Regions from separate parts of the Homo sapiens genome. Here region 1 is linked to region 2. Evidence: promoter capture Hi-C in human tissues and cell types (Jung and others, 2019). All regions are on one chromosome and are shown on one strand. Each heading gives the region's core, a stretch centred on a gene start or on the middle of the fragment in contact. The rest is flanking DNA. Distances are from core to core; before and after follow the strand shown. Region 1 overlaps CIB4 (calcium and integrin binding family member 4). Region 2 holds the start of KCNK3 (potassium two pore domain channel subfamily K member 3).

Evidence for each region. The method cuts DNA at HindIII sites, captures the fragments that hold promoters and counts their contacts. A contact is called where the count stands out against the background at its distance.
Region 1: a contact is called between a fragment that was not itself captured here and the fragment with the promoter of KCNK3 in region 2, in 4 of the 25 tissues and cell types used here (bladder, mesenchymal stem cells, spleen and 1 more).

What each region holds. Positions count from the first base shown.
Region 1 is chr2:26,580,989-26,583,935 of GRCh38, reverse strand. CIB4 (calcium and integrin binding family member 4) reads left to right here. Exons shown (of 7, transcript NM_001029881.3): 5 at 38-147; 6 at 1,023-1,111; 7 at 2,543-2,731. The coding sequence ends at 2,573. Among named protein-coding and RNA genes, the nearest start is that of CIMIP2C, 20 kb to the right of the region's middle. The HindIII fragment of the contact is 6,746 bases long and covers 1-2,947 here.
Region 2 is chr2:26,690,883-26,694,115 of GRCh38, reverse strand. KCNK3 (potassium two pore domain channel subfamily K member 3) reads right to left here and starts at 1,394. Exons shown (of 2, transcript NM_002246.3): 1 at 958-1,394. The coding sequence starts at 1,240. The HindIII fragment of the contact is 34,558 bases long and covers 1-3,233 here.

The sequences.
Region 1 (2,947 bases), core at 366-2,865, 110 kb after region 2:
AGCTCCGTCTAATGCAGGCCTGGCCTCTTCTTTGCAGATTTTAATGAGAATGGCTTCATTGATGAGGAGGATCTGCAGAGGATCATCCTGCGACTGCTGAACAGTGATGACATGTCTGAGGACCTCCTGATGGACCTCACGAACCACGTGTGTGCTGGGGGCTGGGAGTTGGTGGCTGGGGCCGGGGATAGGGGCCAGGTTGTCACCCAAAGCCCCCGGATGTCAGGCCACCCTCTTGGGAGGAGACCCAGGGCCAGCCTGAGGCAGATGACACATTGGCCTTTGGTGCACACATTCCCTGGGGGCTGCCAAGGGGACAGGCAGCTCAGGGTGCCCTGAGGAATGGGCACACAGCTGGAGGCAACTGCCCCTCCACTTTCTGTCCTTCCTCCAAGTCCTTTCCAGGGTCCCCAGAACACGGAGCCCGACCCACCCACTCGAGGGGCCTCCCTACATGACAGGGACTGCCATTGGTGGGCCAACAACAGCTCAACCTCAGAGGGACCCATCTCAACATCCCCTCCCCACTCTGTCCCAGCACAACACAGTGCCCAGGTGTCCTGGAGTGACAAACACGAGGACGGCCCTGCAAACTCAAGTCAGGGCATGGATCTCTGCTTTCAGAACATGACAAGTGTCCAGCATTTCCAGTCTCGATGGGGACTAGAAGATAAAACCATAAGCACTGTTGAGGGAGTCACCACCGCCTCCCTGCCTGCCTGGGCCCCCTTCAGTGCAGAGCCCCTGTGTGTACTGGTTGGTGGGGCAGGTGGGGGACACTCTTGTTCTCTCACTGCCAGGCTCGTGCTGGAGGCCCCAGGAGTGAGAGGCAACCAGTAGGGTCCCAAACTTTGGTGCACATAACCTAATCTCTGTGGGGTCACTGGGGTCAGGGGACCCAGGAGACAAGTGTTAAGCATGTGGGAGAGCCCCTGGCATGTGGCTTTCCCCCTCCACCCTGTGCCCCACCTCACTGCCTGACATGGGGTTCCACTCAACTGTCTTCTGTGCTCCCTCGCCAGGTCCTGAGTGAGTCGGATCTGGACAATGACAACATGCTGTCCTTCTCAGAGTTTGAACATGCAATGGCCAAGTCTCCAGATTTCATGAAGTAAGGCATTCTGGAGGGGGTGAGACTGTCCAGGAGAGTGGTGGGGGCAGGAAGGGCCCCCAGTCTCTCCTCACTCCATGGGACATCTCAGTCTTCCCAAGAAGGCTGTGAGTTTCCAGAATACTTTGCAGATTCTTTCAGAGTCAGCAAAACTGGAGATTCTGAGAAATTAGGTAACCCTGGGGTATTAAAAGGCAGAGGAGAGGACTGGATCCCAGGCTTTGGGAATGACGTCACAGCTCCAACCTCAGAGCATTCCCTGTGCCAGCTGACACACCTCTGTGCTTCTCCCAAAGCCCACTAGGCTCCTGACGACCCCACTGCCTCCAGCGGCCAACTGGGAGGTAGGGGTTTACAGGGGGGATCTGAAGATGCTGGTGGTGGAGCTCATAGAAAAGAAACAATGAGAGAAGCACCCAATTCTATTTCTTAGAGCAGGAGGGGCCCAAAGGGTCTTCTGAGGCCCAAACGTCCTTGAGAAGGCTGGCCATCTCCAGATCTCCCTGGCCACGTTGAAGTCTTTTTGGGGTGCTGCTGCTTTCGGGAGATGCGTGCCCCCTGGAGGCAGCGCGTGCCATGGAGGACCAGCCGGGTGGAGCTGGCGTCTCCTGCTCCTGGGTCCGACTCTGCCCCTGGTCTCAGAGGTGCGCTGATTTCAAGTATGCCCACTCAAGGTGCTTTTACAGACTAAGGGAAACAGAGCAAAGAGCTAGACCTCAGCCAGCACCAGGGCAGGAGCCCGGGGCTGCTGGGTCCCTCTGTGCCAACGTCTCTGCCTCCCATCGCCCCTCCACGCTCACTCTGTGCTGTGCACCAGCTGTCTCCGCTTTGTCAGACATAAGACCATGCACGGCCTCCCTGCAGTGGTCAAGTTTATACCTCCTTGGTCTTGAGTGACTTTCAGTGACTCCTGAGTAACACCTCTCAGCTCTGACTCCAAATCCCCAGAGACAGAATCTGAGTGGCCATGGTCAGGGGTCCTCCCCTCTTCTGACTGCCTGGATGAGGAGGGGGCTCCTCATTCCAACAGGCCTGCTAGGGCCTGTGGCCTGGGTGGCCCCTCTCTAAGGATGCACACTTGGGACCACCCCAGCCAAAGCTAACTCCTCTTGTTCTGTCACAGCCCAGCACATAATTGAAGCTGGCACCCCGACTGCTCAGAGTTTCTCTTTGAATCTCTTCCATTTCTTTCCACTGATTCGAGCACCACAAGGTTCCTTCTGGTGCCCTGCCTTTGCCTTGGGGTGATGCTGAAAGAAGCTTAAAGAAGGTTTGGGGTTGCTTTGGGATGGCTGCAAAGTGGCCGTCACCCAGAGAAAGGGACACGAGATGCAGGCCGGGGAGGGAGCCTCCAGGACTACTGTGAACCCAGGAGTCAGAGGGCCCCTTGGACCTGCGGGCTCACATGGCTCACGGGATTCTTTCTTTCAGCTCCTTTCGGATTCACTTCTGGGGATGCTGATGTAGCGGCAAACACCTGACATGGCAGCCTCGAGGGAGACCACAGGAATCGAACCCCCTCCAGCACTGGAGGGAGCTGGTTTGAAGTATGACTTTGTACTGGGCCCACACTCACCTCTAGAATATTGTTTATTAGATAAAAGAAAAAGCTTTTCCTTAGCCCATCAGATCATCGCTTTTTAAATGCAGGGTCATACATGGTACTTTTTATTAAGAACTGCCCTTTCCAGGGCTTCAGTGTGCCAGCGATGTCAAGCAGGCTGGGGTGGCAATCTTTCTGAGGGAATAGTTCAAATCTCAACCCATGTCATAGCAGGGGGCCAAGCCAAATGGGATGAAGGTCCCTAGCAAGATACATGTCCTTCCCTCCCTTCA
Region 2 (3,233 bases), core at 145-2,644:
TGAAATCATAGGGTGTTGGGGACAGGTAAGGTGTTATTCCCGTCTGGACAGTTTTGAATAGCACCACCAAGGGCCTGGCTAGAGATTCCTTTCCTGGGCAACGTTTGTTCTCTCTCTCTCTCTCTGTCTCTCTCTCTGTGTGTGTGTGTGTGTGTGCCCGCCCTGTGTGTACCCTGTGAGTGCCTGTGTGTATCTGTGTGCATGTGTGCCTATGCCTGTGTTGTCTGACAGTCTGGGTGTACGTGTGGCCTCCTACATGGTGATCTGCCCTGGCTTGGAAAGAACTGGGGTTATTCCTGTGAGGTGACTGTTTTGCTGGGACAGCAGAGAAGAAGGCTGACAAGGCCAGATCTGGCTTCCCGCACCAATTCTGCCGCTCTGAGAAAATCACAGGCACTGACTGGTGGCGACCAAACTCCTGGAGCTGAAACACGCAGACACACGTACACTCACAGCCGCCGTTATAGGGTGGCCCCAAGTGCCCCGAAGTGCCGCATTCCGACATCCTCATGCCTCCCCAGAGCCCAGCAGGTGTAGACCTGCTAGGCTGTGGAAGCCGATCCTCAGGGATACGGAGCACTGGCGCTCTCCCGCCGCTCACTCTCAGCGCCCTGTTCAGGGCCTGGCCCGGCCACACCCCTCCTGCCCGAGCCTCCGCCGGTCGTCCCTGCCCCTCTCACACACTTCGGAGTCCCTGGGGGCCTATGCAACATGGCAGGGCCAAGTTAGGGCTGGCCCGGCCGGAGAGTCAGGTCCGGAGCCAGGAATCGACGCCTCCCCGAGTTCCGTCCCCGCGGAGCACACACGCCAGGCTGAACTCGGGTTTCTGCGAGCGCAGGGTTCGGCGCCCAGCCCCTCTCGGGGGAGCCCCCGCCCCCAGCCCCAGCCGGCCCCGGACGACTCCCGGAGCCCCGCGCCCAGCCCTGGGTTCCCGCCCCCCGCCCGGCGAGCCGTTACCGATGGTGGTGATGACGGTGATGGCGAAGTAGAAGGAGCCGGCGAAGCGCCACTGCACGCCGGCCTTGTGCGGCTTGAGGCGCAGCACGACGCGCTCCAGCTCCTCGTAGCCGCCCTGGCTGAGGTTGTAGCGCGCCCGCAGCTCCTGCTGCCGCAGCTCCAGCCGCTGCCGCTCGATCAGCTCGGGCTCCGACTCCAGCGCGTCGAAGACCGCGGCGCCCACCAGCAGGTAGGTGAAGGTGCACACGATGAGCGCCAGCGTGCGCACGTTCTGCCGCTTCATCGTCCCGCCCGGGCCGCCGCCGGCCCCCCGGCGCCCCCGGCCCGCGCCTCGGCCCCGGCCGCCGCTGCTGCTGCCCCGGAGGCGGCCTGGGGCATGGCTGCGCTCGCCGCTCTCCGCGCCGGGCACCCGCTCAGCGCCCGGGGCCGCCGCCGCCGCCGCCGCCGCGGAGCTGTCCCTTCAGCACCACCCACCGCCCTCCTCCGCCCGGCCCCGCGCCCGCCCCCCGCCCCCCGCCCGCAGGCCGCCTCCTCCCGCCAGCCCTCCCGCCCAGCCAAATAAGGACTGGGGAGACGCGCCGAGGAGGGAGGAGGGGGGCTGGCGGAGGGGACGGGAGGGGCGGCCGCGAGAGAGCCCGGGCAGGACAGAGAGAGAGAAAGAGAGAGAGAGCGAGCCCGAGAGACAGAGAAAACTAGACAGCGAAACGCTGATAACTACGGAGAATGGGAGAAAGGCAGTGTAGGACTGAGGGAAGGGGGCTGTGTGACAGAGGAGGAGATAAAATCAGAGGTGCACTCAGACAGAAAAAGAAGAGAGGCGGGCAGAAAAATACAGAGCAAAAGATGGAAACAGAGAGAGCAACAGACTGAGACAGAGAGGCCTGGATTGCTGGAGATAAACTAATGACAGAGAAACAGACAGGAAGGCAAGGAAGGCAGAGCGAGCCCCTCCCCACCCCACCCTCCACCCTCATCACAGCATATTGCAGCCAGGAGGCACTTGGGGCCTCGCTGTCCTGCCCTTATCCTATGGATGAGGAAATGGAGGCCCAGAGAGGTCAAGTGACACGCATGGGCACGCAGTGATTTCGTGACAGCACTGGGACTCAGCCAAGCGTTCCTTCCTCCCAGGCCACACTCCTTCCTCCCTTGGGCCAGACTCTGGCTGTCTTGGAAGCAGGCAGGGCCCAGCTGTGGACCTGGGCACACATGAGCTGACACCCAAGGGAAAGCCCTGTTCTCAGGCAATGTGTGCCTTCCCAGGTCAGCACAGTTCTTGGAACTGGCTGAGAAGGCACAGGCTGGGAGTCTAGGCCTCCTGCTTCGCTCCCAGGGGCTTCTAGGCTGTCCCGACTCCCATGGTTCCTGTCTTGCACCCGTGCACCAGGCTGGGCTTAGGCTGAGTTGCCAGAGATAGCACCTGCCACCACCTTAGGGCATCCCAGCAGAACCGGGATCTAGCTGGAATTGGGCAGGTGGGGCCCAGAGCAGGAGGCTCACTGGCAGACTGCGGGAACTGGGGCAGGAGAGGGGGTCCCTATGCCTCAGTTTCTTCATTTGTCAAACATGGTGGCTATGGTGGTGAGGTGGGAAGGGTAGTGGAAACTCAGGCATTACTGACCCTCTCAGAGCCTTGTTTCCTTATCTTTTCAACGAGGTGTCGTAGCAGATGATCCCACAGGCCTTGCCCAGCTCTAAACAACTCCAGACTTGGATGGGCTGAGTGAGCAGAATGATTGGAATGCAAATCTCAGTGCCAAGAAGGGTTAAAAAGTCCTTCACAGGACCCTGGCATGGGCCAGGCAGAGAGACAGGGAAGAGACACCAAGGCCCCTGACTGAGAGCAGACTCAGGAGGCAGTCAGCCAGAAGCTGGAGCACTGTCTACCCACAGGCTGGGCTGACCTGTCACTGCCGGACACTACACTCCTCCAATGACACCCCAGAAGTGCCACCAACCCCTTCATTCCTTCAACAAGTATTTATTAAGCATCTGTTGTGTGTCAGGGATTCATCATCTCTGGTCCTCACCACAATCCTGAAAGGTAGGTGTGGTCATGCCTATTTTATAGATGGGGAAACTGAGGCTAAAGGCAATGTAGAGAATCAGTAAATTTCACTCAGCTGGGAAGAGGCTTCAGTCTGTCTGCCTCTTAAGCCCATGCTCTTTGCCATGACTCCTTGAGTCTCTCTTTTTTTTTTTTCAATTTGTAAAGTGGAATAGATAATAATATTAGCTCTACCCGCGTCTTGAACCATTTGTTTTGAGAGATCAAA